Regions from separate parts of the Homo sapiens genome. Here regions 1, 2, 3, 4, 6 and 7 are each linked to region 5. The links are contacts of gene promoters, found by promoter capture Hi-C in blood cells and fetal thymus (Javierre and others, 2016). All regions are on one chromosome and are shown on one strand. Each heading gives the region's core, a stretch centred on a gene start or on the middle of the fragment in contact. The rest is flanking DNA. Distances are from core to core; before and after follow the strand shown.

Evidence for each region. The method cuts DNA at HindIII sites, captures the fragments that hold promoters and counts their contacts. A CHiCAGO score of 5 or more calls a contact.
Region 1: a contact is called between a fragment that was not itself captured here and the fragment with the promoter of CITED1 in region 5, in 2 of 17 cell types (total B cells and naive B cells). The highest score is 6.6, in total B cells.
Region 2: a fragment that was not itself captured here is called in contact with the fragment with the promoter of CITED1 in region 5 in 7 of 17 cell types (naive B cells, total B cells, monocytes and 4 more); the score reaches 10.6 in naive B cells.
Region 3: a contact is called between a fragment that was not itself captured here and the fragment with the promoter of CITED1 in region 5, in 6 of 17 cell types (total CD4 T cells, total B cells, fetal thymus and 3 more). The highest score is 11.5, in total CD4 T cells.
Region 4: a contact is called between a fragment that was not itself captured here and the fragment with the promoter of CITED1 in region 5, in 2 of 17 cell types (naive CD4 T cells and total B cells). The highest score is 6.8, in naive CD4 T cells.
Region 6: a contact is called between the fragment with the promoter of ZCCHC13 here and the fragment with the promoter of CITED1 in region 5, in 2 of 17 cell types (neutrophils and naive B cells). The highest score is 11.9, in neutrophils.
Region 7: the fragment with the promoter of CHIC1 here is called in contact with the fragment with the promoter of CITED1 in region 5 in 7 of 17 cell types (total B cells, naive B cells, total CD4 T cells and 4 more); the score reaches 14.4 in total B cells.

What each region holds. Positions count from the first base shown.
Region 1 is chrX:74,019,894-74,022,764 of GRCh38, reverse strand. The region is part of intron 3 of JPX (JPX transcript, XIST activator); the gene reads right to left. Among named protein-coding and RNA genes, the nearest start is that of JPX, 77 kb to the right of the region's middle. The HindIII fragment of the contact is 3,239 bases long and covers 1-2,871 here.
Region 2 is chrX:73,941,949-73,944,955 of GRCh38, reverse strand. It overlaps JPX (JPX transcript, XIST activator), which reads right to left and starts at 632. Exons shown (of 5, transcript NR_024582.1): 1 at 491-632; 2 at 294-372. RefSeq lists an enhancer at 508-607. The HindIII fragment of the contact is 2,079 bases long and covers 313-2,391 here.
Region 3 is chrX:74,129,497-74,132,456 of GRCh38, reverse strand. The region is part of intron 5 of FTX (FTX transcript, XIST regulator); the gene reads left to right. It also overlaps the pseudogene DDX3P1. Among named protein-coding and RNA genes, the nearest start is that of MIR421, 87 kb to the left of the region's middle. The HindIII fragment of the contact is 973 bases long and covers 767-1,739 here.
Region 4 is chrX:74,003,468-74,006,222 of GRCh38, reverse strand. The region is part of intron 3 of JPX (JPX transcript, XIST activator); the gene reads right to left. Among named protein-coding and RNA genes, the nearest start is that of JPX, 61 kb to the right of the region's middle. The HindIII fragment of the contact is 6,389 bases long and covers 1-2,755 here.
Region 5 is chrX:72,304,489-72,307,210 of GRCh38, reverse strand. CITED1 (Cbp/p300 interacting transactivator with Glu/Asp rich carboxy-terminal domain 1) reads left to right here and starts at 1,297. Exons shown (of 3, transcript NM_001144887.2): 1 at 1,297-1,386. LOC105373250 (a long non-coding RNA gene) reads right to left here and starts at 1,109. Exons shown (of 3, transcript XR_938441.2): 1 at 991-1,109. RefSeq lists an enhancer at 242-291 and a silencer at 18-312. The HindIII fragment of the contact is 8,247 bases long and covers 1-2,722 here.
Region 6 is chrX:74,302,735-74,305,627 of GRCh38, reverse strand. It overlaps ZCCHC13 (zinc finger CCHC-type containing 13), which reads right to left and starts at 1,448. Exons shown (of 1, transcript NM_203303.3): 1 at 594-1,448. The coding sequence starts at 1,361. The coding sequence ends at 861. The HindIII fragment of the contact is 8,144 bases long and covers 1-2,893 here.
Region 7 is chrX:73,561,760-73,564,459 of GRCh38, reverse strand. CHIC1 (cysteine rich hydrophobic domain 1) reads right to left here and starts at 1,263. Exons shown (of 6, transcript NM_001039840.4): 1 at 880-1,263. The coding sequence starts at 1,175. It also overlaps the pseudogene MAP2K4P1. RefSeq lists a silencer at 1,284-1,343. The HindIII fragment of the contact is 6,151 bases long and covers 169-2,700 here.

The DNA of each region.
Region 1 (2,871 bases), core at 12-2,511, 1.7 Mb before region 5:
ATGACTCCTAGCTGTATGCATGTCTTCCTTTGAAAAAATGTCTATGTACTTTTTCATATTTTCAATGTGGTTTTCTCCCCATGAATTTAAGTAGCTTATAAATTCTGGATATTAGAACTTTGTCAGATGCATAATTTGCAGATATTTCTCCCATTCTGTACATTGTGTTCACCATTGATAGATTCTCTTGCTGTGCAGAATCTCTATAGTTTAACTAGGTTCTATTTGTCAATTTTTGTTTTTGCTGTAATTGCATTTGGAGTCTTCATCATAAATATTTTTCAGAACCTATGTTCAGCATGGTATTTCCTAAGTTATATTTTAGCATTTTTATGGTATTATATTTTACATTTAAGCCCTTAATCTATATTGAGTCATTATATGTAATGTAAGGAAGCGGTCCAGTGTCAACCTTGAATATATACGTAGTCAGTTATGCCAGCACCATTTATTGAACAGGAAGTCCTGTCTTCATTGCTTGTTTTGTCAACTTTGTTGAGAAGCAGATGACTGTTGGTGTACAGCTTTGTGTTCTATATTCTGCTCCATTGGCCTCCATGTCTACTTTTATACCGGTACCATGCTGTTATGGTTACTGTAATCTTGTAGAATACTTTCAAATTCAGGTAATGTTATGCTTCCAAGTTTGTTTTTTGTCTAGAATTGCCTTGGCTATTAGGACTTTTTCACTCCATATGAATTTTTAAAGGTTGTATTAATTCTGCAAAGAATGTCATTGGTAGTTTGAATAGCAATTAATGTATAAATTGCTTTGGGGATTATGGCCATTTTAACAATGTCATTTCTTCCTATTTGTGTCATCTATGATTTCCTTCAGTAGTGTTTTGTAATTCTCCTTATAGTGATCTTTCACCTTCCTGGTTAAATGTGTTCCTGGGTGATTTATGCTTTTTGTGGCTATTGTGAATGGGTTTGCCTTCCTGATTCAATTCTGAGCTTTGATGTTGGTGCTGTATAGAAATGCTAAGTTACAGACTGACTTTTTATACTGAAACTTTGTTGAAGTTTTGTATCTAATCTAGGAGCTTTGGGGCTTTGAGGTTTTCTATGTATAAAATCATGTTGTCTGCAGAGATAGTTTTACTTCTTTTCCTATTTGGATGCCTTTTCTATTAACTGATTGCTCTAGCTAGAACTTCCAGTAGTATGTTGAATAGGTGTGGTGACACTGAGCATCCTTGACTTGCTCTGGTCATAAAAGGAATGCTTCCAACTTTTGCCAGTTGATTATGAGGTTGGCTGTGAGTTTGTAACAGATGGGTCATTATTTTGAGATATGTTTCTTCAATGCCTAATTTGTTGAGGGTTCATAACATGAAGTAATGTTAAATAAATAGTTTCTGCATCTATAGAGATGAACATGGTTTTAGCTCTGCTTATGTGATAAATCACATTTTTTTCGTAAGTTCTGTATGTTGTACCAACCTTGCATCACACAAATATAGCCTCCTTAATCATGGGGAATTTGCTTTCTGATATGCAAGTGGATTAGGTTTGCTGGTATTTTCTTGAGAATTTTTCCTTTTAAGTTCATCAAGGATATTTGTCTCAAGTTTGTGTTGTGTCTCTGCCAAGTTTTGGTATCAGGATCATGCTGGCTTCATAAAATGATTAAGGGAGGAGTCCTTCCTCCTTGATATTTTGGAATAGCTTAACTAGGAATTTCACCAGCTCTTTCTTACATATCTGGTTGTATTCAGCCATAAATCCATCAGGTCCAGGTAGGGTTGGTAGGGTTTTTATTACTGATTCAATTTCAAAACTGGTTAGTTATTTCTTGTCTGCTGCTAGCTTTGGAATTAGTGTACTCGTTTTCTAATTCCTCTGTTTGTTATATTAGCTTGTTAAATTGAGATATTGAACTTGTCCATTTCTGCTTTAACTTCATTATTTATGCCAACATAATTAAGGATCAAGTTGCTTAATTTCCATGTAATTGTATAGTGTTGAGTAATCTTCGTGTTGATTTCTATTTTTATTGTGCTCTGGTCCAAAGATCTGTTTAGTATGATTTTGCTGTTATTTGAATTTGGTGAGGATTGTTTTATGGCCCACTGTGTAGTCAACTATAGAGTATGTGCCATGTGCAGATGAGAAGAATGTGTACTTGGTGGTTTTGGGTGGACATTAATATGGATGTCTGATAGGTCCATTTGGTCAAGTGTCAAGTACAGGACTAAAATATCTCTTAGCTTTCAGCCTCAGTGATCTAATAGTGTCAATGGGGTAGTGAAGTTTCCCACTCTTATTGTCTGCTTATCTAAGTCTCTTCATAGGTCTGTAGGAACTTCTTTTATGAACGCGCATGATCCTGTGTTCAGTGCATATATAGTTAGCTCTTGTTGAGTTGAACTCTTCATGATTATATCTTTCTCTGTCCTTATTGACAATTGCTGTTTTAAAGTCTATTTTCTATGAAGTTAGAATAGCAATCTGTCCCTCCTCCTTTTTTCTGTTTGCTTGGTAGAATTTTCTCCATCCCTTTACCTTGAGTCAATGGGTGCCATTACTTCTGAAATGGGTTTCAGGAAGACAGCATACAGTTCGGTCTTTTTTATCCAACTTGCCTCTTTTTATCATTTATTAGGACAGTAGTCTATTTAATTTCAAACGTAACACTGATATGTTTATATTTGATTCTGTATTACTATTAGCTGGTTGCTGGTTAATTGTGCATTTGGTTTATAGTGTCAGTGGTCTGTGTACTTAAATGTGTTTTTTTGGTGGCCAATAATGGTCATTCCTTTTCATATTGAGCACTCAGTTAAGGACCTCTGGTAAGGCAGGTCTGGTGGTAATGAAATGCCTTGGCACTTCCTTGCCTGTAAAGGATCTTATTTCTCCTTCACC
Region 2 (3,007 bases), core at 103-2,602, 1.6 Mb before region 5:
GAACAAATGTTAAGTTTTTGCCCAAAACTCCACATTTGGGGTATAGTGGGCACAGAAAAAAATTGTTTAATCTAGTGCATAATGAATACGTTACAAACAAATTAATTAAAACTAATAAGTCTGGACATGAAAGGCAGAACAAAAAAAAAATAAAGTTAGGCCCAAGAGGTTAGGCTGTTCCTAGGAAAGCTCTGAGGAGATGGAATCCATTTTGGCGCGACATGGTGTCAATAAAAACCCATTTAAATAAGGAAAAAGGAAAGAACGACCCATATATCCCTCCTAGGAGCTACCTTCTGCAACTTCCAAGCTTCGTCAGTAGAAGTTAGGCGATCAGCGAGAAAGAAATTATTCTCCGATATTTTGAAGAGACTGGAGAGAGAAAAATGGAATACAGGCCGGTTACTCCCCCGACTCAGGCCACGCGATCCCAAAGTGTGTAGCCTCGCTAACGGCCACTTCTCTAGCCAACGTGAGGCTCATCACTCACCACAATACTATTAACTGGCGAGTTTCTGGACTTTTGTTAGTGGACTCATACTTCGGACGCCTTGCAACCCCCGTAAGGACGCAGTGATTGCACTCCGTGCAAACGCCGCCATCTTAAGTCTTCCACTAGCCCTAGGGCATAGGCGGATGAAAGCCGGGGGTGGGCGTCACAGCCAAACAGGCCCGGCGCCCAGCCGTCGTGCACTACCTAAATGCCTCCGCCGGCAACATGCACCAGCCGTTGCCGTGCCCCAGCCGTTGCCGTGCCGCAGCCGTTGCCGTGCCGCAGCCGTTGCCGTGGACCCTCCCCCAGTTTCCTGACCTGTTGCACTTCCTCTCACAGCCTTTATCTCTTTTGAAATTCCCTTTTCCTTTTTCTTTCTCTTCATTTCTTTTTTCCTTTCCCAACCCAAATTTCTTTTAGCTTTGCCTCGACTCCTTTCTTTCTTCCCTATTTCCAGATCTCTCACTCTCATTAACTTTACCTCACAAGTATGATAGACAAAGCTGCCATTCACTTCTGTTATCTCACTAAGTCATTGCAACATCAGGTAAGCTGAGGACTGATTTTTTCCTGTTTTATAGATGACGAAATTAAGGCCCAAAGAGGTGACCCAATTTTCCAAAAGTGCTAGAATGAGCTAGAACCTACTTCTTTTCACTTTACTAAGCCCCGTGTTCCGATAGATGAGGGTGTATGTACTTCAACCAACTAATGGGAAAACAGAAACCAGAGGGTTTTGGCCTAGTCATACAGTGAGTCCGTCAATGGCAAAACTGGATTCAGAACAAGGTGCTTCCTTTAATTCTGTAAACAAAAGAGTCTTCATAAAAGAGTTGGTAGCCAGGTGTGGTGGCGCTTGCCTGTAATCTCAGTGTAATCCCAGCTACTTGGGAGGCTGAGGTGGGAGAATCGCTTGAACCCGGGAGGCGGAGGTTGCAGTGAGCTGAGATCGTGCTGCTGCATTCCAGCCTGGGCGACCGTGCCAGACTCCGTCTCAAAAAAAAAAAAAAAAAAAAAGAGTTGAGATGCTGCTCTTGAGCCTAAAAGTCCTTCCATCTTCCCTCTTCTTTTATTTATTTTTGTTTTATTTTTTTGAGACGGAGTCTTGCTCTGTCGCCCAGGCTGGAGTGCAGTGGCGCGATCTTGGCTCGGTGCTACCTCCGCCTCCTGGGTTCAAGCGATTCTCCAGCCTCAGCCTCCTAAGTAGCTGGGATTACAGGCATCTGCCACCATGTCCAGCTAATTTTTACTAGAGACGGGGGTCTCACCATCATGGCCAGGCTGGTCTTGCACTCCTGACCTCAAGTGATCCACCCGCCTCAGCCTCCCAAAGTGCTGGTATTATAGGCGTGAGCCACCGCACCCAGCCTCCCTCTTCTTTTAGATTCAGCTCTTTTAGATTCAGTCCTGACACTTCTAAGAGGCCTCTATATTTATCAAAACCTTTATCTCTGTTGTTCCCGCTCCATGAGGGAAAATACACTAGCTGGATACCAGCCCCAAAAGTATGAAAAAACCGAGGCCAAAACTTGTTTGTGAAGCATTATGTGTGAGTGGTGCAGGTTTCTGGGGGAAGGCTTGTGCTTCACCGGTAAGGAAAAGACACTTTAGAGGTCCTAATCCCTTTCCAAAGCTATAGTTTCTCTCTATGCACTAATGTTGTCTCTGGTTTTCTACGAGACCCCCACATAGAACACCTCTTATTCTATTCATTTGCATCATTACTTTTCTGTCTTTATTTTGATATCGTCACCCTCAAAAGGAAGGTAATGATACACAGTTGTATAAAACATCTGGGCATTGACATATGGACATTTTGGAGTAAAACACCAAAAACACCACATAAAACCAGTTACGTGTTCAAAGGTCAGTAATAGAGGTGGAGAGGTCTCTAAGCTTAAACTGTTTCATCTCCTAGGGTTTAGGCATATTTGAGCACATCTTGGAAATTTGTAGGACAGGCACCAAAAACCAATTGCAAAAGGAACTGTTGAGCTCCTAAGAAAGAACTAGTACTAAAAGAGTAGGGAATCAGATAGACAATGTAGGGTAAAAGAAGGATCAAGTCTGAATGTTGCAGAGGAGGCAAATATGACTGTAAATTCTGTCATATTTTCTTTTGGCAGTAGCACACCATGCATTTATTTTGGGGCAGGTACAAAACATCCCTCTGTAGTAATTTAATGGTAAGTAGAAAGGGGGATAAAAATGAGTGAAACCTGCCGGGCACGGTGGCTCATGCCTGTAATCCCAGCACTTTGGGAGGCCGAGGTGGGCGGATCACCTGAGATCAGGAGTTTGAGACCAGACTGGCCAACAATTACAGCAATACAAAAATTAGCTGGATGTGGCGGTGGGCACCTGCAATCCCAGCTACTCGAGAGGCTGAGGCGAGATAATCACTTGAATCCAGGAGGCGGAGGTTGCAGTGAGCCGAGATAGCGCCACTGCACTCCAGCCTGGGCGACAGAGCAAGACTCCGTCTCAAAAAAAAAAAAAATGAAATCTATTGCA
Region 3 (2,960 bases), core at 4-2,503, 1.8 Mb before region 5:
AGGCCAGGGCAAGAATAAGACTGCAGGAATTGCCATGTTTGGGTGGGCCCAGTTTCTAATGGCCGGTATTTGCATATCAAAGCTTGCTGGCCTAGCTTTCCTGCTAGACAAGAAATGTTTCTGGAGTTGCTCTAAAAGAAAAAAAAGAACTTCCCAAGGACCCCTTTTCTTATCTGCTTAAAATAATTTCTTAATAACTCTTTCTTTTTTTTTTTTTTTTTTTTTTTTTGAGACAGAGTCTTGTTCTGTCACCCAGGCTGGAGTGCAGTGGCACGATCTCGGCTCACTGCAACCTCCGCCTCCTGGGTTCACGTGATTCTCCTGCCTCAGCCTCCCAAATAGCTGGGATTACAGGTGCACAACACCACGCCTGGCTAATTTTTTGTGTATTTTTAGTAGAGATGGGGTTTCACTATGTTGGCCAGACTGGTCTCGAACTCCTGACCTCGTGATCCGCCTGCCTCAGCCTCCCAAAGTGCTGGGATTACAGGTGTGAGCCACCGCGCCCAGCTCTTAATAACTCTTATAACAAGAATTATAATTTCCTCCACATCCATCACTGTTGTAGAAGCCTCCATAGCTACCTCCACCACATCTGCTGCTGCTGCCATGACCACCTCCACCACTGCAGCTGCTGCTTGTATGACTACTACTGAAGCCAGAACTGCTGGAACCACTACTTTGTCAATAGTCTCTGGCACCAAATCCTCCACTGAATCTTTTAGATCATGCATGAATACCACCCTTGTAGTGGTGTTTATAAGCTTTATTTTCCAACCAAGCAGGCACTTCTTGTTTAGCTTCTATAAGAATATCCAACAAATCCTTTGTAATATTCATATTTCTTTAATTAAAGAATGAGGTGGCAAGACCCTGGATTCCCACACATCCTGTACAGCCAATACAAGGCACATATTCTTCAATATCACTTGGCAAATCAAAATTGAAGCATGTTTCACATTTGAAATGTCTAGTCTTCATGCTGCCACAGCTGTAGCCACTAGAATTGGGATTTTCCCCAAGCAAAACTGATGAAGGGCCTCCTTCTCGATCTCTCTGTGATTGGTCTCCATGAATACTAGTACAAGGATATACTTCATGGTATAAGAAATTCTCCAGAGAATCTTCTCCCTTTTTGGTCTCCACAAACACTAAAGTCAGTGAATCCTTCCCTGGTGCATTTAAGAGATCAAGCAGAAATGACCGTTTATCTGGCTCTTCCACCCAAACTACTTCCTGTGTGATAGTCTCAGAGGTAGAGCCTACTCTTCCTACAGCCAAAAAGATATATTCATCCAAAAAGTCACGAGCAAGCATCTGTATTTCGTTAGGAAAAGTAGCACTAAACATCATGATGTGATGAATGCCCTTCAGTGGCATAGTATCTTGTTCAAGTATAAGATGTATCTGAGGTCCAAATCCCATATCCAGCATCCTATCAGCTTCATCCAACACTAAGTATTTGCAGAAGTCTAATCCAATCTTTCCTCTTTCCATCAAATCCACTAGACCTCCTGGCGTGGCTACTAACAAGTGGCATCCATGTTCTAAGACCTGAATTTGCTGACCAATATCAGCATCACCATAAACTACACAAGGATGAACTCTAGGCTGGTATGAAAATTTTCTGACTTCCTCATATCTGTACAGCCAATTCTCTTGTTGGGGCTAAAACCCAGGAGATTGAGTATTGTTCATGGCATCCATACCTTCCATTTTCCTTCACAGCCTTCAAAGCTTTTCCTGGACCATCTATATATATCTGACTCAGTACGGGTAAAAGAAATGCTGCAGTTTTCCCAGACCCTGCTTGGGCACAAGACATTAAGTCTCTTTTTTTCCCCTAATAATAGGAATGGCATGTTTTGCAGTGGAGTAGGATGAGTATAGTAAGTAAGCTCTGTAAGGTCCTCTGAGCTGGCCGCACCATGGTCAAGCCATCGTGACATTCCCCCGCCCTTGTGATAATGTACTTTGTGATATTCCCCATCCTTGTGAAGGTAGTTTGTAACATTCCCCGCCCTTGTGACAATACACCCTCCCCGCCCTTGTTAATGTATTTGTAACATCCATCCCCTGCCTGCAAAAAATTGCTTCTGACTCCACTGCCTATCCCAAACCTATAAGAATAAATGATAATCCCACCACCCTTTGCTGACTCCTTTCTTGGATTCAGCCCACTTGCACCCAAGTGAATAAACAGCCTTGTTGCTTACACTAAGCCTGCTCAGGTGGTCTCTTATACGGACACACATAGTATTTGGTGCTGAAGACCCGGGACAGGGGAACTCCTTCAGGAGACTGGTCCCCTGTCCTCATGCTACCTCTGTGAGGAGATCCACCTACGACCTCAGGTCATCAGACCAGCCAGCCCAAGGACCATTTCACCAATTTCAAATCGGTAAGCAGTTATTTGCACTCGGGTAAGCAGTGTTTTTGCTCTCTACCTAACCTCTATTGCCTCCCTTCAATCTCTCTCCTTTCAATTTCAGTTTCTCTCCCTTCCTGGTAGAGACAAAAAGGAGACACACTTTATCTGTGCATTCAAAAACTCCGATGTTGGTCACGGACTTGGGAAGACAGTCTTCCCTTGGTGTCTGATCACCGTGGGGACACCTGTCTTGATCATTCACCCACATTCTCTTGGTGGCAGGTCAATTATGGGGATGCCTGCTTTGGCTGCTCACCCACATTACAGCCCAGGACTCAGTCAGGGATGCCTACGGGAAGCCTGTAGTTGCCACCTCCATTTCTCCGTGTCTCTACCTTCCTCTTTAAACTTACCTTCTCCACTATGGGCAACATTCTGCCATCCATTCCTCCCTCTTCCCCCTTAGCCTGTGTTCTTAAAAACCTAAAACCCCTTCGACTAACACCTGACCTAAAACCTAAACATCTTATTTTCTTCTGTAATACTGCTTGGCCCCAGTACAAACTCGACAATAGTTCCAAGTGGCTAG
Region 4 (2,755 bases), core at 141-2,640, 1.7 Mb before region 5:
TTATATTCCCACTAACAGAATGTTGGGACTTCCTTTTATCCACATCCTTGCCAGCACCTGTCTTTCATCCTTTTAATAATAGCCATTCTAAAAGGTGTAAGGTAATATCTTGCAGTTTTGATTTGCAACTCACTAATGATTAGAGATGTTGAGCATTTTTTTCATGTATCAATCAATTGGCCACTCATGTCTTCCTCTGAAAAATTTAAGTTGAGGTCCTTTTCCCCCTTTTAAAGACAGTTGTTTTCTTGCTATTGGGCTTGGGTTTCTTAATACATTTTGGATATTAGCCCCTTATCAGATATATGATTTGAAAATGGTTTCTCAAAACCCGTGTCTTCATTCTGTTAACTGTACCCTTTGCAGTGCAGATGCTTTTTAGTTTGATGCAACTCAAGTTGTCTGTTGCGGGAAGTCAGGGACCCCAAACGGAGGGACTGGCTGAAGCCATGGCGGAAGAACGTGGATCGTGAAGATTTCATGGACATTTATTAGTTCCCCAAATTAATACTTTTATAATTTCTTATGCCTGTCTTTACTGCAATCTCTAAACATAAATTGTGAAGATTTCATGGACACTTATCACTTCCCCAATCAATACCCTTGTGATTTCCTATGCCTGTTTTAATCTCTTAATCCTGTCATCTCGTAAGCCGAGGAGGACGTATGTCGCCTCAGGACCCTGTGATAATTGTGTTAAGTGCAGAAATTGTAGAGCATGTGTGTTTAAACAATATGAAATCTAGGCACCTTGAAAAAAGAACAGGATAACAGCAATGTTCAGGGAATAAGAGAGATAACCTTAAACTCTGACCGCCGGTGAGCCAGGCGGAACAGAGCCATATTTCTCTTCTTTCAAAAGCAAATGGGAGAAATATCGCCGAATTCTTTTTCTCAGCAAGGAACATCCCTGAGAAAGAGAATGTGCCCCTGAGGGTGGGCCTCTAAAATGGCCCCCTTGGGTGTAGCTGTCTTCTATGGTCGAGACTGTAGGGATGAAATAAGCCCCAGTCTCCCATAGCGCTCCCAGGCTTATTAGGACGAGGAAATTCCCACCTAATAAATTTTGGTCAGACAGGTTGCTCTCAAACCCTGTCTCCTGATAAGATGTTATCAATGACGATGGTGCCCGAAACTTCATTAGCAATTTTAATTTCAACCCAGTCCTGTGGTCCTGTGATCTCGCCCTGCCTCCATTTGCCTTGTGATATTCTATTACCTTGTGAAGCACGTGATCTCTGTGACCCACCTCCTATTCGTATACTCCCTCCCCTTTGAAAATCCCTAATAAAAACTTACTGGTTTTACGGCTCAGGGGGCATCACGGAACCTACCGACATGTGATGTCTCCCCAGGATGCCCAGCTTTAAAATTTCTCTCTTTTGTACTCTGTCCCTTTATTTCTCAACCCGGCCAATGCTTAGGGAAAATAGAAAAGAACCTATGTGACTATCTGGGCAGGTTCCCTGATAGTTGTCTGGCTGTTTTTGCTGCCCATGCTTTTAAGGATGTATCCAAGAAATCATTGCCCAGAACAACATCATAGAGCTTTTCCCCTATATTTTCTACTAGTAGTTTTACAGTTTCAAAGGCAACATTTCAGGCTTTAATCCATTTTGAGTTGATTTTTCTATATGCTATGAGAAAATGGTTCAATTTCACATATAGATATACAGATATCTCAAAACAATTTATTTATTTATTTGTCCTCTCCCCATTCTGTGTGCCACTTTTGTCAAAAATCAATTGGATGGAAATGTATGAGTTATGTCTGGGCTTTCCTGTTCCACTGGTCAGTGAATCTGTTTTTATGCTGGTACCACAGTTTTTTGATAATGGATTACAAAATCAGGTAGAGTGATGCCTCCAGCTGTGTCCTTGTTGCTCAAGATTACTTTGATTATTTAATGTCTTTTGTAGTTCCATACAAGTTTTAGAATTTTTTTTGTATTTCTGTAAAAAAAATAAAAATAAAAAGGACATTGAAATATTGATTACACAGAATCTGTATGTTTCTTTTGGCAGTATGAAAATTATAACAATATAAATTTCCCAATCCATGTACAAAGAAAAATTTCTATTTTTGTAATCTTCAATTCGTTTCATCAATGTTTTCACTATACAGATCTTTAACCTACTTGGTTAAATTCATTCATAAGTTTGTTTACTTAGTAAATAGTGTAAATGTGATTAGTTTCCTGATTACTTTTTTGGATAGATTGTTGTTTGTTAGTGTATAGAAATGCTACAGACTTAATTGTCAATTTTGTACGTAGCACTTTTTATGGAATTCATTTTATTAGTTCTATAGTTTTTTTTTTTTTAATGGAGTCTTTAAGGTTTTCTAGCTATAAGATAAGATAATCAGGAGAGGCAAGTTTTTTCTTCTTTTCCTACTTAGATGTCTTTTATTTCTCTTGCCTAAATGCTCTTGCTATGACTTCCAGTACAACACTGAACAGAAGGAGAAAAAATGGCATCCATGTCTTGTTCCTGATCTTAGAGAAAAAGCCTTCAACTCTTCGGTGTTAAGATTTCAGCTCTGGGCCGGTCATATAGGGCCTTTAATGTGTTGAGACATCTTCCTTTTATACCTAACTTGTTCAGGTTTTTATCATGCAAAGATGTTAAGTATTGGGCCGGGGACTGTGGCTCATGCCTGTAATCCCAGCACTTTGGGAGGTCAAGGAGGGTGGATCACCTGAGGTTAGGGGTTCAAGACCAACCTAGCCAACATGGTGAAACCCTGTCTCAA
Region 5 (2,722 bases), core at 48-2,547:
AGGGCCACAGACGCCAGCCGCTGCTATAAAAATGTGCCCGGCGGCAAAGCTGCAGAAGGGGCACCGCTGAGCTGCCGAGAGGAAGCTCGCTCTGCCCGGCTGCCCTCTTGTAGTCCGCCGGCGAGGGGCAGTTCTCGGTGAGGAGGAAGAGAGCAGCGGACGGCACAGCACCCGCGCGGGCCCTCCGTGAGTATCCAGTTCAGATTTTGCCACCAACTCGCCCACGAGCCAGGACATGTGCTAATAATGCCCTAAGCCGGTTATAAAGACGTGGAAATTGAGGGGAGAAAAAAAAAGGGAAAAAAAGGGTCTGTCCTTCCTGGGATTCCTAGCCGAGGCCAGTCTGCTGCCGTGTGCGTGTGCGTCAGGGCTCTCCGGGCGGCAATGGGGGCTTGAGAGCCGGGTCCCCAGCGCCGGGAAGGGAGCGCGGTGGCCGCCACCGCCACCGCCCCGGAGTCCGGCGCCGAAGCTGCGGGCGGGCGGGCGGGCACCAGCTCGGTCAGGGGCTGCTTGGCGCGGCACTGTGCGGTGCAGCGGCGGCGCGGCGCGGTGCGGGCTTTTCCCAGGCGCCCCGGGGTCGGGTGGCCAACGGCGCGGCCGCGGGCGCTGAGCGCGACCGGTTCGCGGTAGCGGTGGCGGCGGCGTGCGTGCCAGGGGCTGGGGGCTCCGCCGCCTCTCTTGCGGCTCACCGAGCTCCGCGCTTCCCTCTCTCCAGGGCAGGCGGCTTCTCAGAGGTAAGCCGGGCCGCCGGGCTGGGCGCCGGGCTGGGCGGCGGGGCCGAGGACTCCCGTGGAGCGGGTATGGGGAGTGGGCGGCCGCCAGGCGGGCCGGAGGGTTCTGGGGAGACTTGCTTTCTGTTGGAAAGCTGCTCTGCTGGGGGCGAGGGGCCGCCCGCCCGCCCGCCCGCCAGCGCTCGGGTTCGCTTGCCAGCGCGCCCCCCTGCCGGCCAGCGGGGCCGGGTGCCCGCTTCTCCCGGGGAGACGGCAGCACCTTTTCTCCCTGCGCCCGCGCTTTCTCCAGCTTGGCTTCCACCGACTTTGCTAATCTCCCGGACCGCATCTGGACGCTCTGGCTCCGGAGCTGCACAAAGCTCAGATTTACTTCGGGGAATTGAGGCAAGAGGGGGCTTTTCGGGCCGAGTTCAGCGGAATTGCGGGATGGAAGTTAGCGAATTTGGGCAACTTGCCTCTACTGCCCAGTCGACCTCAGCCCTCCCCTCCCCCGACACACGCCCACACACACACACCCACGCGCACACCCCTCTCCCTATAAACGCGGGCTGGCGAGCCGCGCGCCGAGTCCCTGCTTCGCAGAGCACCGGACTTGGAGTCAGAGAGACCTGGCTGCGAATCCCGGCTCCGCCACTTTCTAGCGCTGTGACCTTGGGCAAGTTACCGCACCTCTCCGAGCCTCTCTCACTCTTCTCCTAGCGGGGTTTTAGCACTGACCGCAGGCGGCTTGGCTAGGGGGTAGGCTCAGCCTGCTGCCGCGTCGGATGCTCAGCGGGCGCTCAGTAAGTGTTGATCAGGCGCGAGAGTGGCAGCAGCCGGCGCCGGAGTGCGGACTCGCCGCGGAGGCCGACACCCCGTGCCCCTTCCTGCCTGTCCATCCTGTCTCTAAGATCAGTTCCTGATACAGCACTTGCGGGAACGGACGCTCAGGGCCCCGGTGGCCTGGGTGCACGCGCCCGCCGTGCAAGGGATGCTCCCGGCCGCCCCCGGTTCCGCGGCTCCATCTGGGATGCGGCGAGGAGGGCAGCCGAGCTGTCCGCAAACAACGGGCCTTTAGTTTTCAGGTGGCGAAACTGACTGGTCTGGTTAGAGCGCGTCCAAGCCAAGCCGCAGTGCTGTTTGGATTTTTAAATTTCTCCTTCTGAGTGAGAAAATAGCAATCGAGATGGAACCATCCGGTTGGTGCCATTTTAACTTTTGGTCCCCCAACAGGTTAAAGATGAGGCCCCCACCTGCCTCTCCCTTCTCTTTTCCCTCTCCCCTTCCCACCCCTGTCTAGGCGGGAGGGGGCTGCTCGCCCAAGGGAAGGCCTGAAGCGAAGAGCGGGCAGCGGGACTGGGAACTGGTGGCCGGGGGGCCGCCAGGCATCAGCCGGCGAGAAGGCACTTGTTGCTCTAGGTTTCCCAGCCGCCTGTCGCAGCCGTTTCGCAGTGGTCAGCTCGCGGCTTGGAGAGCGGGCTGGGACGTTTCCGCGTTGCCAAGTTTTGCCCACGAACGGGCTAGAGGGTGGTGGAGGAGGGCAGAAAGCCGGGGAAGCAGAGCCAGGGATGCCGATGGAAATGCGATTGCTTCTTCAGACGCATTCAACAACACTTACTGAGCGCCTATTGAGCGCAGACCCAGGCTGGGGTCAGGGTGGGTGGTGGGTCAGTAATGGAAGGCAGAAGATCTGAATGGACACAGGGCCTCTTCTGGGGGAGCTCCCAGATTGAAGAGGGAGGCGCGGTAAAATGGTCTTCCCCCACGAACTGATATCAGAATAGAGAGAGTTTTTTTGCTCGTTCTCTCTTTTGATTTTTCTAATGTTTCTCTTTTGGTTTTGCTGTTGTTGCTGCTGCTCCTGTTGTTTTTTCTTCGTTTTGTACATTCGGGTACCAAGCGGCAAAAAGGAGAGGGAAGGCTGGATAGGAACAGGAAAAGATGGACAGGGCCCCCAGACATTTTTCTTAGGACAGGAAAATTGTCTGATACTGATTGTGCTAGGGCTCTTG
Region 6 (2,893 bases), core at 199-2,698, 2.0 Mb before region 5:
TCTGGTCTGGCCTCCCAAAGTGCTGGGATTACAGGTGTAAGCCACTGCGCCCGGCCTGTTAAGATTTTTTGTTTCTGTTTTTTTCTGATTGCTCTCTCTCTCAAAGCAGCTCATATACATTATACATTTTGTTTCTGGTTTATTTTCATTAAACTACACACTCTATGCAGGGCCAGACAGAGATGTCTCGTTCAATGTTGTTTAAAACCTAATGAGGCCAGATAATTCAAAGCCATCAATATGATAAAATTTAAGTTACTTTGGCAAGGTCATGGATTTTCAGAATCAGCTTTATTTGCCCTATGGATCTCTGAGGAAATATAACCTCCTCAGGGTGCCCTTGTGTATCTAAAACAGAACCACATTCTTTCCCTCTTTCCCCCACATACACATTCTCTTTTTATCCTTTTACCTCCTGTTCTTTCTCTCTATGGCAATTTACCTTCATCTGACACACTATTTTTCTTGTTAATAGATTCTAGGCCTGTGTTTCTAAATTTGTTCTAATTTGTTCACCATTTAGATCCAGCTCTTCCAATAGTGCCTCTTAATTAAATGTGTTAAATCAAAATACAACAAAAGAACCCCTTAAGTGATTGGTGCTCAGAATGACTATTTAATAACTAGATTTGCCCGTGGGGCAGAAGCAACACGTTAATTGTGGGGCATCTACCAATGATTAACTTTTTTGAGGTTTTTTTTTCTAGCTCTTTCCTCCTTTAACATGGTAATTAAAGCTCACTTGCCTGAGAGTAGCCTCAATCTATCGACCTTTCGGTGAGTGAAGTTTTCGGAGAAAATAATACAATTATCAATCAGCAAAAGGGTGGGGGGTGGGGGGGAAGATTTAAGTGGTAACCTCACTGGGACATTCCTTGGCTAGATGTCGGGATTTGCCGCAGCGGTAGCAGTTGACCTGGCCTCGCCTTGCTGCAATTGATGGCCACGTGGCCAATCTCGCCGCATCGGTAACACTTGACCTGGGCGCAGTCTTTCTGAATGTGCCCAAGTTTGCCGCAAGAGTAGCATTTCTGCTCTTTCTGACGATCACAGTCACGAGCCAGATGTCCTAGTCTGCCGCAGGTATAACAGTGTTGGCGTCTCTCTCGTTTAGGATCCTTACAGTCTTTGGCGATGTGGCCGCTTCTCCCACAGTTGTAGCAGATGTTTCCGAGAAGGACACAGTTCTTAGCATTACGACCGGACTCACCACAGCAGTAACAGGTGTAAGATAGGGTGGTGGAACCACATTGAGAACCTCTGCCATGGCCTCCACCTCTTCGCCCTCCAGCTCCTCCTCTAGGGCATCCCCGAGCCCAATGGCCAGAGTGTCCACACGCGAAGAAATCCTTACTGCTCATGGCTGCGATGCGATCTTCCAATGAGCAGGCCCACCTCGGCCCCGGAGGCCCCGGCGCAACCCCGCTTTGGGCGGCTTAGAAAGAATTAGCTGTTTTCCGCTAGGTGTCTCAGTGATGTCATACAAGGTTTGCACACGGCCCCATTCACGTGTCACGGACATTCCTGACGCCCTTCCCGCCCGACTTTCCTCCTACTCAAGAAGCCAAAAGCACAATAATCTGTTAACTGAGTAGTGTTGTTTTCCGTTTTTGTTTGTTTCAACACTTGAATCATTGAGTTTGAATCCTTTCCTATTTAGAAAATTAGACTTGTAGAAGTTTTCATAATTTAAGACTTAGTCGGCCGGGTGCGGTGGCTCATGCCTGTAATCCCAGCTCTTCGGGAAGGCCAAGGCGGGAGGATCACGAGGTCAAGAGATTGAGACCATCCTGGCCAACATGTTGAAACCCCGTCTCTACTAAAAATACAAAAATTAGCCGGGCATGGTGGCGGGCTCCTGTAATCCCAGCTGAGGCAGTTGAACCAGGGAGGCAGAGGTTGCAGTGAGCCAAGATCGCGCCATTGCATTCCAACCTGGGCGACAGAGGGAAACTCTGTCTCAAAAAAAAAAAAAAAAAAAAAAAATTTGGTGTTCCAGTGGAGGTGAGGGGGACAAATTGTGTCGACTTCTATCCCATGATCTTGCTCTGTCCCCTGGGTTTCTTAATTCACTAAATAATTGGAACTCATAGTTTGAAGCATACTATTTAGAGGCATATGTGTAAACATATCTTTATATTACGAGTTATTTATTTATTTATTTTAGACAGGAGGAGTCTTGCTATGTTGCCCAGACAGGTCTCAAACTCTTGGGCTTGAGCAATCAGCCTCCTGAGTAGCTGGAACCACAATCATATGCTGGCTACTATGACTTTTTGATGTTTCAATTTTAGACATTATCTGTGTCTTTCCATTTTGGAGGATGAACATTTAGTCTTCTTTTACCACCCACCCTATGCACTTGCACAGTCCAAACTCCTCATTCCAACTATGCCTCCCTTCACTTAATATTGGTTGGGACAATATTCAATGTTTTTATAATTATAAGTATGTAAATGATACTCATGCCTGAGCCATTTGGAGAGTACTCTGATCACTTCATTACCTGCATGGTTTTTATGTTCTCTGGAGTTAGTTATTGTCATTCTTTATTTCTTTAGTTTCTCATATATTTACCTAAATACTATTTAATAGCTATATCTGTGTGTTTATCTTTATACCAGTACCACATAATCTTGATTACTGTAGCTTTGCATTATACTTTGAAATTGGGAGGAGTAAGGCCTCCAACTTTGCTCTTTTGATGTGACTATTCTGAGTTCCTTGCATTTTCATATGAATTTTAGGATCAGCTTGTCAATTTCTGCAAAAAAAGGCAAACGGGTGTTTGATATGGATTATGGAATCTGTAGATCATTTTGGAGACCATTGTTATCTTAAAAATATTGAGTCTGGCCGGGCGCGGTGGCTCACGCCTGTAATCCCAGCACTT
Region 7 (2,700 bases), core at 14-2,513, 1.3 Mb before region 5:
AATTTTTCCTCAAGATTTCAATTTTTTAAAAAACCACCCTGGATAAATTTTAAAGAAATTATGCTCAGCTCCCAAAGTATTAATTTCCATATATATTTAATGCCTGTATATTTCATACTTGGGCATACAAAATCCCTTGGAGGTAAATTATCTCAGAACTGAAAAGCTTTAGAAACCATCTACTCCAAACCCTTCATTTTAGAGATGAAGAAATCAAGGCGCAGAAATGAGAAAAAGCAACCTGACCAAGGTCACAGGGCCAGTAAGAAGCAAAACCGGGACCAGCGTCTAAGAGCCCTGACTCAATCCATTTCTTTTTCTACTTTCCATAGCTGCCTCTCATCCTGAACCTCTAATCGAGTGATATATAAGGAAGGATTCGATAGGAAGAATGGATGGATGAATACGTGGGTGAATGAACATTCTATTATTATTCACAAAATATATCATGTTTCTGTTTTGAAGAATGCAAGCCTAGTTCTTGTCACATGTCACAGCAATTGCTGTTTCCCACAAAGTATCAATCTTGTCAGCAAAAAACCCTCTGGTACATCCTGCAGTTTAGAGACTGTTCACTTGCCAGCATACATACAAGAAAGGAGACTCACCCCTACTCCAATCGCTCTGGCTCCCAAACCCCTAACTTCCCTCTCCTATACTCACTCTTTACCTGGCATTGGTGCATCATATTTACATTCTCCTCACTTCCTTCACACGTATCCACCCATGGTTTCCCCATTTAGACCAGGTGTCCTTTCCTAAGTGTACGCCTCAGTCAATCAGTCAACCCTCCCCCACTCCACAGGCCCCTCGATCACTTCTCATTCCTCTGTTGCCAAATCTCAGGCATTTCAAGTCCCAAGACCCCCTCTCGCTTACACAGTGATGTGGCCGGCACCCCGCACTAATACAGGGTCGGGAGCATATCTCCGCAGATGCTCCTCGCTCACTACCCGAGGCGGGGGCGGCGCTTCCTCCTCCTCTTCCTCCTCCTCCTCTTCTTCCTCCTCCTCCTCTTCCTCCTCTTCCTCCTCATCCTCCTCGTCATCGTCGGGCCCAGATACCGACGACGACGACGACGGCGACGACGACGACGTTGCCGCTTCTTCTTCCTCCTCCTCCTCCAGTTCCGAGATGGTGTCGAACTCCGCCATGTTGGGCAGCAGGATGCTCATCACGTGACCTCGCGATCGCCGCCACGCTCCCGGAGAAGAGTTTGAACCTGCCGAGGTGCTGCAAGAGGAGGGGGAACGAAATGAAGAGAAAGAGGAGGGGTGTAGGGACAGGATTTGAGGAGACGCGCCTGCGTGTTGGGCAGACGGGGGGGTGGGGGGGCGGCTGCTGGAGGCGGGGGCACTAGAGAGGAGCAAAGTCAGTGTACGCTTGCGCAGCTCCAAGGGGAGGGGGCCGCTAGAGGTGAACTCCAAGGAGTTATCCAGGTCCGGTCTGCGGGTGCTCGCCTTAATACTGCTCTCTGAGCGTCAGCTACTTGTATTCGGGGTATCTTCTGATTTTATTGCTTATTAATTAATGCTGGGCATTATTAACCCAACTGCAGGCGGGTGAGAGAAAGCATATTGTATAAAAGTAAGGTTAGAACTTTGTCCAAAATATCTCAAGGTATATACCAATCCCTTACGTTTGTTCAGCATTACAGTTTAAAAGCCTTGCGTCATAACTTTGCCACAATCTTGGGAGGCAGGGTAAGCACTTTTATTAGCATTTTACTTAAGAGGAAACTTTTTACTACTTCTCCTATGTAATACTTAACGGAGGACTTATTAACTCAGGGACTGTGCTAAGTGCTCTGTATGTATATCTCATTTAATCCTCTGCAACCCTATGAGGTATGTATCATGATGATTTTATATTACAGATGGGAAATCTAGGTGCAGAGAAAATAAGTAATTTGTCCAGTGTCAGGGAGCTACTAAATGGGAGACCTGGTTTTAAATTTGGTGGTCTCTTCTGATTCCAGAAGCCCAGTACTCTTAACCAAAGGGCTGTACTGCCTGAAGTTGTTTGGAAAGATTTTGTAGAATGGTGCCTCTTGGGCTCTTCCTTAAAAGATGAATCAGAATATGCATGTTTGAATTTTGGAGTGTTTTTTGGGGGAGGGGGCGGATGGAGGGGGTGAAAGGAGCATTCCAACCTAAGGAAACCTTAATTAACATCATCCATTTTCCAGACACTGAGCTAGACCCTCACATACAATATTTCAGTTAACCCTTAATCCTGAGAGGTAAGTATCATTATATCTATTTTATTACATGACAAAAGTGGGTCTCAGAAGTTTAAGTAATTTATTCAAGTCTATGGTGACCTTTTGTTCAAAATTTTCCATTTTAAATGGTCTATCCTATCTTCTTTACACTCACTAAAATGTTGTGGGGATCACATATTTTGCGTATCTAAATAGTGTGCCAAACTGTTTCATACTTGGCAGCAGCACAAAAATCCATATCATTAAGACAGTAAAGTCACACAGCTGCTAAGTAACAGAACAAACACTGTAATCCAGGCATTCTAATACCAGCTTCACTGCTCTTTCTGCTACTCTACGGCTGCATCCCAATCAGATGGTGTGTCTCTGGGGAAACAGACATAGTCAAACTTTAATTTAGGATGAGCACGACATTATCAGTATAAACAAAGCATTTAATGTGTGTGAAGTAGGAAGAAATTAGTTCTGTAAGAGAA